Regions from separate parts of the Homo sapiens genome. Here all the other regions are linked to region 2. Evidence: promoter capture Hi-C in 16 types of primary human blood cells and fetal thymus (Javierre and others, 2016). All regions are on one chromosome and are shown on one strand. Each heading gives the region's core, a stretch centred on a gene start or on the middle of the fragment in contact. The rest is flanking DNA. Distances are from core to core; before and after follow the strand shown. Region 1 overlaps LOC107986045 (a long non-coding RNA gene). Region 2 holds the start of PLSCR1 (phospholipid scramblase 1). Region 3 holds the start of DIPK2A (divergent protein kinase domain 2A). Region 4 has its middle 2.9 kb from the start of SLC9A9.

The links. The method cuts DNA at HindIII sites, captures the fragments that hold promoters and counts their contacts. A CHiCAGO score of 5 or more calls a contact.
Region 1: a contact is called between a fragment that was not itself captured here and the fragment with the promoter of PLSCR1 in region 2, in 1 of 17 cell types (M0 macrophages). The highest score is 6.5, in M0 macrophages.
Region 3: a contact is called between the fragment with the promoter of DIPK2A here and the fragment with the promoter of PLSCR1 in region 2, in 2 of 17 cell types (monocytes and M0 macrophages). The highest score is 8.6, in monocytes.
Region 4: a contact is called between a fragment that was not itself captured here and the fragment with the promoter of PLSCR1 in region 2, in 2 of 17 cell types (M0 macrophages and M1 macrophages). The highest score is 6.7, in M0 macrophages.

What each region holds. Positions count from the first base shown.
Region 1 is chr3:148,949,750-148,952,449 of GRCh38, forward strand. All of the region lies in intron 2 of LOC107986045 (a long non-coding RNA gene), which reads left to right. Among named protein-coding and RNA genes, the nearest start is that of GYG1, 40 kb to the right of the region's middle. The HindIII fragment of the contact is 6,256 bases long and covers 1-2,700 here.
Region 2 is chr3:146,543,211-146,545,910 of GRCh38, forward strand. PLSCR1 (phospholipid scramblase 1) reads right to left here and starts at 1,397. Exons shown (of 9, transcript NM_021105.3): 1 at 1,257-1,397. RefSeq lists an enhancer at 1,247-1,726. The HindIII fragment of the contact is 8,607 bases long and covers 1-2,700 here.
Region 3 is chr3:143,970,538-143,973,237 of GRCh38, forward strand. DIPK2A (divergent protein kinase domain 2A) reads left to right here and starts at 1,286. Exons shown (of 3, transcript NM_173552.5): 1 at 1,286-2,452. The coding sequence starts at 1,796. RefSeq lists enhancers at 592-1,172, 652-761, 1,032-1,121, 1,173-1,753 and silencers at 852-901, 1,232-1,881, 2,372-2,611. The HindIII fragment of the contact is 6,379 bases long and covers 1-2,700 here.
Region 4 is chr3:143,850,016-143,852,715 of GRCh38, forward strand. No RefSeq gene overlaps it. Among named protein-coding and RNA genes, the nearest start is that of SLC9A9, 2.9 kb to the left of the region's middle. The HindIII fragment of the contact is 1,231 bases long and covers 722-1,952 here.

The sequences.
Region 1 (2,700 bases), core at 75-2,574, 2.4 Mb after region 2:
TGTATGCCAGTTGGCTTATATTTTTGCATAAATGAACTTAGTTGTTTAAAAACTATATCATTGCCATGAAATCACGACTTTGGTGTATATATATATTTTTTATTTATTTATTTATTTATTTTGAGACGGAGTCCCACTCTGTTGCCCAGGCTGGAGTGCAGTGGTGCAGTGGTGCGATCTCGGCTCACTGCAAGCTCCGCCTCCTGGGTTCACGCCATTTTCCTGCCTCAGCCTCCCAAGTAGCTGGGACTACAGGTGCCCGCCACCACACACAACTAATTTTTTTGTATTTTTAGTACAGATGGGGTTTCACCATGTTAGCCAGGATGGTCTCAATTTCCTGACCTCGTGATCCGCCCGCCTCGGCCTCCCAAAGTGTTGGGATTACAGGCTTGAGCCACCTTGCCCGGCCATATTTTTCTAACATACAATACAATAAAATGTACAAGTAAAAATTGCTTTCAAATGTTCTTCCCTGTAACAGTAAACATAGTTTTTACATCAATGGGGTAGCCTTACAATATCTGAGAAAACACTAATAAAAGGGAATAATCTGATCCCACCTTTCCTCCAAAGATGGCTCTAAGGAAAAATGTAAATAGGGAAGTTTTGTATTGAGGGCCTCATTCCTCATCCATGTTCTCCTTCCTTTAAACAGTAATCACATAAATCACTGGGGGTGGGGCCTGGGTATCGAGTAATTCTAATATGAGCTAGGGGTAAAAGCCATTATGTCATTTCCCTTTCAAAAGACATTTCTCCTCAACAATGAACCTCATTCCTCCTACCACTTCCATAGGGCCAGCCTTTATGCACTGAGAGAAAGCCAATTTTCAGGCTGTCCTAAATTCATACTACATCAATATGTCTATACATCCACTACTGACAGGCTTGTTTTACTTATTTCATTCTTCCTTTCTTCTTATTCTGTTTCGTTATTTTATTAGCTAAAATAAATGACTTTTCTGATTTTGGAAGCAAATGTTCAACGAAAGAAAATTTAGAAAGTAAAAATAAGTAACAAAAGTAAACACTTTAAAGGCCCATAATACCACTTTTAACACTGCAGGACATATATCAAAACCCTTTCTAGAATATGAGTCAGAGTGTTATTTAGAAAATGGTATGTGCTGAATGCACCACTGTAAAAGAAGGAGAGATGCTTTTTCCTCCCTCACTCCCAAGCAAATTTCGTGTTCTAAGTCTGAGCTTCCTAGCCTCAGCCACTTGTTAATAAGTATAGTTGCAGAGCTACAAACCAGAAGCCAGGAGGTGCTAGAAAGCTAACACTCTATCCACCCAGAAAGAGACTAGTCCTGAGAGTGGAGGCCTAAGCCAGGAGGACAGAAGTTTTGCCAAGGAGGAGACCAGTGGCATTGGGTTCAAGAAATGGTGAAGATCTATGCCCCACTCCCAAACAGTCCTCAAGCAGTGACCTGGACTGAACCCCAGGTTTTTGGCCTTGGCACACAACAAAAAATTCCCGTGCCCAGCTTGGTAGAGGAAAGGAAGCTGCCCTCTTAAAAAGGGCAATGAACATCCTAAAATCCTCAACAGCTTTATAAATCAAGAAGAGCCTCCTAAAACTCAACTGAGATGGAATGTCCTGCTAGTTGTGGTCGGTGGGAGGGGACAAATTGATCTAATTTGGAATTGTTAAGGCCCATTGACCTAAACCACCAGATTTCTGGAGCCTCTTGATAAGAGGGAGTTGAGAGGGCTTCTTATAAGATCTGGGAATTTAATGGATAAATTTAAGGAGAAATTAGGAAAGTAGGGATCAAATCTGGATGAGATTCTGTCAAAATGAAGGTACAATTTTTATCTTAGCAAGGAAAAAATTTTTATCTTAGCAAGGAAAAAATCTAAAGTGGGTAAGAGTTGTCATTCATTTAAAAAGAAAGAAAATAGCAGTCACTTCTGTTAAAAGAAGAATGTATCTAGTCATTTTTATGGTTATAGAGTGGCCTCATCTTTATCTTGTTCCAAACATAGTCACAGAGTGGCCTTGTCTGAACATTGTTTATATTCTGTAAGCATTGTTAGTGTTCACTTGGGAACGTCATGATCCAGCAGCCAGCAGCACAAATTTTTACTTTCCTAAACAAATAAAGGAATGTATCACCACTCAGACCAAACTAATATTTACTTTATATATATACACACACATACAAATAAAATATTATGCTATACATACTATTGGATAATATGCTTTATATAATGACATAGCATCAGTAGCTTTCCATGACAGTGTTCATCAGCATCACTTTAAATGTAGGAATGGAGCTCCATCATGCAGATGAGCCAAAACGTGTTTCATTAATCCCCCATTGCTCAACATTTAACATGTTTTCCTTTGTGTGTGTATGTGTGCGTGTGTGTGTGTGTGTGTGTGTGTATTAGTTTGCTAAGGCTGCTGTAACAAAATACCACAGACTGCATGGCTTAAATAAGAGAAATTTCTTTTCTCACAATTCTAGAGGCCAGAAGTCCCAAATCAAAATGTCAGCAGGATTGATTTCATTCTGAGGCCTCTCTCCTTGACTTGTAGATGGCTTTCTTCCTCCAGTGTCTTCACATGGTCTTTCTTCTGCGTATGTCTATGTCCTAATTGCCTCTTCTTATAAGGTTACCTGTCATACTGAATTAGGACCCACCCATTGGACTTCATTTTACCTCAATTTCCTCTTTAGAAGTCCT
Region 2 (2,700 bases), core at 147-2,646:
AAGATGGAGAAGTACATAAGGGTCTGCTCACACACATCTGATGTCTCTCCACCTGTATGTACTCTAAGCTCCTTTACAGATCTAAAGGCAGTTTGATCTATAAACCAGCTATTTTACATGCCACTTTTCTATCCAATTGCATAAATCCACTCTTTCCCTTTATATGTCTTTTTCATTTCCCCGCATTTTCTCATTGTTCAAAGCCCTACTATTGTTGTAAACAGGGTGGCATTAAGACAAAGGTTTGCTCTTAGAAAAAGTTCAAGAAGGGAGCCCCCAAACTGTCTGACACGTTTAAGTGTCACTTGTAGTAACCATGTATCTCAATGTGATAAGCCAGAAAAAACAACGACTGCCTGTTCCTGGAACTGGGAAGTGGCCATGCCAAGACTTCCAGGAATAACAGTGCATGAATGAAACCACCTGGGAACCAGAGAATCAGCTTGGAGAAGCAGGAACTTTGTCAAATATTTAAAATAATAAGAGCTAACTTTCACTGAGTACTTTCTGTAGCGCCAGGCACTGCTCTAAGAATTTTACATTAATACTCTGTAGCTCATTTAATAGTTACACAATTTCAGAGATGAGGCAATGGAAAGAACATATATAAGAAGAAAGTGGCTGACAGTCCACAGACGTGAAGCAGTAGAGGCCGAATTTAAAGTCGGGGAGCCTGACTGGAGCTAATGGTCTTAGGAACCGTGCTAGATACCGCCACTATCTTTCCTAAGCTGGTATTGTAGAGGGCCTAGCATAGATGTGGGCTCCGGCGGACTTCATTGAATACTTACTGATAAATGACAGCTTGCAGGCTGTATTAACCATTCCTTCTAATAGCCCCACTACGCTGGCACATGCTCCTGAGCCCAGACTCTACCCAGGATTCAGGGCCGCTCTCTACCTGTAAAGCAGTGTAGCTAAGGGGAAGCTGAGCCCCGCAAGGCGTTTTCAGGCAGGGCACCCCTTGTCATTCGAATGGTTCTGGGGTGAGCCCGGGTGCCGCTGGGCCGCCTGGGGCCCCTTGCCGTGTACCTGCTCCACTTCCAGGGTCCCTTTCAGAGGCCTCTTGCATTTCTGGCCCCAACCTTCACCCCACATCCTCCACCCCCAGAGCAGCAAACACAACCTGCGGGCCCTCGCGCCGGTTCCCCACAAGTTGCCCTCCACACCTGACCCCGGCCCTGGCCCCAGCGCAGGCTCCGCGCAGTTCCCGCGCCCAAGTCCCCAGGAGGCGGCAGAGAAAGCCGCCCGCGCACCTCTGGCTGCCGCTGTTTCCGCTCCCGAGCGAGACAAGGTCCAGAGAGCCGGGGCCAGGCGATGGCTTCCTCTTCTGCGCCTCTAGACTGCCGGGCACAGCTGCTGCGCAACCTTCTCAGAAGTCAGCCGGAAAAGGGTCTGGGAGTAACCTTTGCGCCAACACCCGCGGCTCCTGGTTTCGTTTCCTGAATCTTACGTACACAACACGGTTTCCTTTTCCCGGTTCCCGCGCTGGCGCTCGGGGACCCACGAGACTACTGGAGGGTGAAGGAGCTGGAGGAGGGACTGCGCCCACCCCCTGGTGTGAGGCCCCTCCCCTACCCCCGACTTGCTTTCTTGCTCATTGGAGAGACTCCAGAGACGTTTGTCCGGTGGTTAAGGAGAGGAACTGGGACTCCGACACTAACTGGAACTGGAAAGTCATCAGCTGGGGAGTGGCCTCCCCCGGGAACTTTCTTTACTCTGGCTTTGACCTCCATCCCTCGGAAGCCCGTGGCTTTTCAAGGCGAGGGAGTAGAGGCAGCTTAAGACTACAAATGAGGAGGGGCCAAAATTGTTTTTCTTTATGGTGCCTTTTCTTTCTTGCTGTCTTGCTCTTTCTTTCCTTCTATTAAATTATGTGATATTACTTTTTAATTTTTAAGCAGTTATTTGAATGTTTTCGAGCTCACTTTATTTTTTTATAAATATTGTTCCTTTTTAAACTAAAATAGTTTTTATTCTGTGTATTTAAGTTATTTGTATGACATATCCATCAACTCCTATAATTACACATTTCCCCCCTTGGGGCAAGAGCAGCTATAATCTACTTATTTAGCATAAATCCTGAATACCACTATCATTAACTATAGCCCTCATGTTGTACATTAGGTCTTCCCATTTGTTCATCCTACGTGTTTGTAACTTTGTATACTTTTACCTAAATTTCCCCATTTCTCCTGACCCCACTCCAACCTGGATGACCCTGGATAAACCAGTGGTCCCCAACCTTTTTGGCACCAGGGACCAGTTTCACGGAAGAGGATTTTTCCATGGACCAGGGCCGGGTGGCAGACGGTTTCAGGATGATTCAAGCACATTACGTGTATTGCGCACTTTACTTCTATTATTATTACATTGTAATATATAATAAAATAATTATACAACTCACCATAATGTGGAATCAGTGGGAGCCCTGACCTTGTTTTCCTGCAATTAGAAGGTCCCATCTGGGAACGGTGGGAGACAGTGACACCAGAAGTGTGTTGCTTATGTCCAGTCTACTCCGTAATCTTGTTTTGGTTGCTGTCACTGCAGAAAATCCTGCTTCACAAAGATAGCATGTTGGAAATGGAAGCAGACTCTTCAGTGCTTTTGTGGCAATCTCAGGATATCCCACCTTGAGTTTAATCCAGAACATGGGATTTGAAGCTGTCTCAAACATACTTTTAAGGCCACCATCAT
Region 3 (2,700 bases), core at 36-2,535, 2.6 Mb before region 2:
AAAATCTGAGTTCTTATAAGAATTTGTAACAAATACCTGTTACAATTAAACAATACTGAAAGTATTGTTACTTTTGATAACCTGGTATAGATGTTTCTTATTAACCCGCTGTAGAGTTGATCTACACATGCCAGTTACCATGGTCTTCTAAAAGCACTGTTCAAGCCCTAAAATTAACTCAGTTAAGACTCAGTTGTTTAATAACGTATCAGGAACCACCTGTCCCTCAGACTAAAAATCACTTCTCATTTTAACTACTCTAGCACTAAAAGTGAATAGCATAATAATGTATCTACTAGCGCTACTGCTAAACAGTCCGGGTCCCCTGAAACTTATCCCTAAACACAGTGCTTTCGTGCGGCATCTGCGCCTTACTTTTGCAGTCTGGGGTGACTGAGTCAACGTGACCGTGCGGAGCACCAAGCAGCCCCGGGTCCCCATGGCTACCGCCAGGGCAACGCTTCGCGGCCCGCTCCTCAGGGACCCTCAGGGGCGGCACCGGGAAATCAGCTTTGCGGAGAGGAACCGCAGGGCTCCGGGGACGGGCTAGGGCAGCCGGCGGGCAGCAGAGGCAAGCCTGGCAAACTCTTCCCGGCTTCTTCGCGGCGCTTGGGGCAGACGTCCTGGCGACACCAGGCCGCGTCGGTTCCCCTTCATCCTATTTTCCCTTTAACACGGTGGCTTGAGAACTTTATTTTGTGCTCACTCAAGAAAATTTTAAATGATTTTACAGATACAACCCCAAAGATGAAGCTCCAACAAACCCGCCACTACTCGAGCCTTTCTCACCGTCTTCCTCACAGGCCCCACCCCCTACCGCGAGGAGCACGAGCTGAGGGGAACACAAGCCCCCGTCGGGCACTCCCCGGCCTCGCCCCACCCCCCAGGCGCGCACCCAACCCATATAAGGCGAGGGGAGGCAATCGCGCCAGCTCTGCCTCCGCCTCGCGCGCCGTCCAGAGGGAAGGATTTGCAATAGACTTCCTCAGTTCATTTCTTCTTATTCCCTCCTCCCTTAAAGGGCCGTTTCCACAATAGTGAAAGGAACGCACCAGTAAACCACAATAATCATAAAAGATGACTGTAATTAAGACTCTTTCTGAAACCAGAAACCGCGAGTTCATGCCCCCACCTCAAGAGCCCGAGCTTCCCCCTCTCTGAACCGCCCCCACACCCGCTCCCGCGAGCTCCCGCTTACGCTTTCCGGGCGGCGCGCGACGCGCTCGCTCCGCCCCTCTGGCCCCGCCCCCGGCTCCCCTTCTTGGTCTCAGGAGAGCCAGCGCGCACAAGCAAGGGTGTGCGGCTCTGAGACGTGCGTTGCTGCTTGTGGGTGTGAGACATCCTAGCTCCTCTTCCCCTTCCGTGAGTCCCTCCTTTCCTCGCAGACCCCACTTGTCGTGGCTGGCTGCCGCCGCAGCTCTTGTGCGAAGCCAGCAGTGCGCGTGCGCGCGGGCACGGGCGCGCGACCGTCGGGTCCCCGCGCTCCCTCCCCCTCCCGCTCCTCTATAACTTGGCTGGCGTGGAGGAGGCGCCGCCGGAGTCGGAGGGCGGGGAGCTAGGAGGAGGGAGCTCGAGAGTTGTGGAGACTAGTGACTGGGAGAAGTCGCAGCCCGCTCAGGCCCGCGCCTTCCCGCTCCCCGTCTTCCTCTCTCACACACCTACTCCGCCCTCCGCCCCAGCCCGCGCGCTAGCTCCTTCTCTCGCCCGGGGTTCCTGCCGGTAGCTCTCCGGGTCTTGGCGCGGCGGGGGCGCCCCGGGGGTGCCCTCGCCCTCCCGTTGCGGGCGGGCGGGCGGTATGTGGCGCCTGGTGCCCCCGAAGCTGGGCCGCCTGTCCCGCTCGCTGAAGCTGGCGGCGCTGGGCAGCCTGTTGGTGCTGATGGTGCTGCACTCGCCGTCGCTGCTCGCCTCTTGGCAGCGCAACGAACTGACCGACCGGCGCTTCCTGCAGCTCAATAAGTGCCCGGCGTGCTTCGGCACGAGCTGGTGCCGCCGCTTCCTCAACGGGCAGGTGGTATTCGAGGCGTGGGGCCGCTTGCGCCTGCTGGACTTCCTCAACGTGAAGAACGTGTACTTCGCGCAGTACGGCGAGCCCCGCGAGGGCGGCCGCCGCCGAGTGGTGCTCAAGCGCCTCGGCTCGCAGCGCGAGCTGGCGCAGCTCGACCAGAGCATCTGCAAGCGGGCCACCGGCCGGCCCCGCTGCGACCTGCTGCAGGCCATGCCCCGGACCGAGTTCGCGCGCCTCAACGGCGACGTGCGTCTGCTCACGCCCGAGGCGGTGGAGGGCTGGTCGGACCTGGTGCACTGCCCCTCGCAGCGCCTTCTCGACCGCCTGGTGCGCCGCTACGCGGAGACCAAGGACTCGGGCAGCTTCCTGCTTCGCAACCTCAAGGACTCGGAGCGCATGCAGCTGCTGCTGACCCTGGCCTTCAACCCCGAGCCGCTGGTGCTACAGGTAGGCGCGGAGCCAGGGCAGGGGGCGTCCTGGGAGGGGCCGCGCGTGGGAATCAGAGTCGGGAGAAGTGGCTCAGCCAGCGCTTGCCGCCAGTTCGGACTCGGCCGGGCTGGGCCAGGCTGCAGGCGTGGGAAGGGGCGTCTCCGGGGGAGCCCCGGGGCTGTGCAGGGAGGCCGAGGGCGACCCCGCTGATGGAGAGTCTGCTCTTGTTACCTAGATTCGGGCGCATTTCGGATTTGACTGTGGAT
Region 4 (2,700 bases), core at 87-2,586, 2.7 Mb before region 2:
GTATTTATGTGTGCTGCAGATGTTCTTCTGACACGCTACCCTTTTTGGCAGGAATATCTGTGATGACTAATATTCATACTGTTTTGAAACCTATCAGCTAATGCTTGCAAGCATTTCATGGAGCTTTGCTAGCAGGTTCTACCTTTATGATTTTGCAACTCCACAGGTTCAGTCGAGTTGTCAGATATACAAGATAACACAAATTCAGAAACTTCCTGTCCTTTTGTTTTTTGTCATTATTGAATTACTTTGGTTTTCTTTTATCACAATTATTCCATCTGAGTAGAATAAACATTCTCTGGTTGATCCGTGACATCCAGTTTCACTCTTTTAACCAATGAAGCAACTTGACAAAAGATTAATGGCCCATAGAATGTTTTGATTGGCTTACACGTCTTTTTAAAAAGTTTTAGGTTTGATGTCAACACATTCAAATCAGTATATTTAACATTTAAAAAATCATATGGCTTTTTGCAAGAAAAACTTGTAAGATCTGGCACACTGGGCCCTTCTTACATGGCCACAATCTGTTGGGGCTGAGTGGTTGCCTGCTGCATTTGCAACCAGCTTGCCACAAGTCCATTCATCCCTCTTCTTTCATTCATGGTCCCCGTGTGGCCCCTGCAGATGTTTGAATGTATGACCCCTGCTTTATTCCAGGAATGGAGTACATTCACTATTCCATTGTTCATTCCTGATGCTGCTTCACATTGGGGGGAAAAGCTTGAAGAAAAGGGGCTCAGGAAACATCTCCAATTCCTCCATCCAGAAAAGGAATTCAATTCTTCCTATTTTGTGTTTTCTTTTTAGAATATCATTTTTTATTTTGCTGTACCAACGTAAGTGAGAAAATAAAATGGAAACATGTAACAATAGAGAGTCTACTATGGACCAGAAAATATGCCAAGGAATTTAACTTAGTCTAATTTAATGTGCAGAAAATACTCACCCTTCTCCTGGTGAGTAATTTAAGGCTCAGGGAGATTTGGCAACATAGCCAAGGTCACACAGCCAGTAGGAGTTAAATTGCATGTGGGGTGTATTGGCCTTTAGATGGCTTTTCAGCCAGGGTGATCAACTCATCCTAGCTTATCAGGGACTTTCCTGGTTTACTACTGAAAGTTGTGTGTCCCAGGAAACCCCCTCACTCACAGACAAACAAGCAAACTTGGTCACTCTAACAGCCAAAGTTCCTCAAATTCTCAAATCCTGTACTGTCAGTAATCACTATTTTTCATGAGATTCCTGAAGGAGATATTCACACAAGAAACAATATCAGTTAAAAATTACATGCTGTTTTGTGACCTGGTAACCAGGATCATTAGTTCCAGGTTCTCAGATAAAATTGGGATGGACTCAAAACTTAGGCACAAGGACCAAAGAGGAATTCTTGACTGTCCCTAAATCTCAATATTAATACCTGCTGGCTACTGCAAGATGCGACACGCAAGTGAGAAGCAGCAAAGAGAAAGAACAGGATGGCCCAGCCTGTTGCAGTCAGTGTGCCCTGTCTCAGCTTGCCCATCCAGCCACAATGAAAGAAAGAACTGAAGAGTGGAACCTCCCAGGCCAGTGTAACTTTGCATGGTGCGGTAATCTCACCCATTAGTGAATGGGATCCAATCAGCTTTACAGAATCTAACCAATCACTTGAGAGCTCCTCATTCTTGTAAGAGGTCATTGAAGATTGTGGGGTCAGGGTGTCGAGAAGCTAAGTTTGCTTTGGGTAGGGAGACATACTGAGAAGTCCCCTCTCCATCTCCCTGGAGCTCCACAATGCCCAGTCTTAGTTCTCTCTCAGCCCCTAGTGTTAACAGAGAATACTTCAGACAACACAGGCCCTGGGTTATAGGAAAATTCCACCGTCTCATTCATGTGGCCTTTCCCTTGCTATTTATCCCTCTCTGAGACCAGTGAAATGGAAGTTTCATATTTTGCCCCACCCTACTCCAAGCTTCTGAAATGGGCCAGGACAGGACTGTAATTAAGTTTGCTTGAAAGCCACACGATGTCCTCATCCCAAAATTCATCCCCTATCCTATTTTCAAGCTCACCATAGACCTATCTTAGCTGTCCCCACCTGAAAAAAGTCACATGTTAGCATAAGTTGCCCCTAAATTTGAATAATATGGACCCCTCCCATTAGTATATTTCCATAGAGAAATGAAAGTTCAAAAATTTCACGGGTAATTAAATCCCATAGTAAACACTTGGACAATATTAAGCCCACCCCAAATTCACTGTTCAATGCTTGGTTTCTTTCCTTCAGCCTTTACAAAGTCTGGTCTGTGGGATCCAGGGCCATGAACCCAGGATGTGACCCCAACTCCATGTTCTTTCCACTGCTCTTCATTATAGTGGGAAGGTGAGATTAAAAATCACTGAAAACGAGTTAAATTAGAGAATTTGAATCATTTTATTAACAATGCAAGTGTAGAAATGTGTGTGGCATGGATAGGGGATCCTTTCCTTCTTCTACCCAACAAGTGCATTCCAGCCATTCTCTGAGGAGGGAAAAATGGGTGCAGACCTCACTGTTTCCCTCTGTGAACTGTTATCTCTGTGTTGATTCTTGATGCTCAGAAGTCCATCACTCAGTGACGACCAGAGAAAAGGGGAATCTTCTTCCACCTGCACTAGAGGCTATTTGGCTGGCCTTGGCCCACCCAATGCGTACTGGATGTTATTTAGGTATTTTTT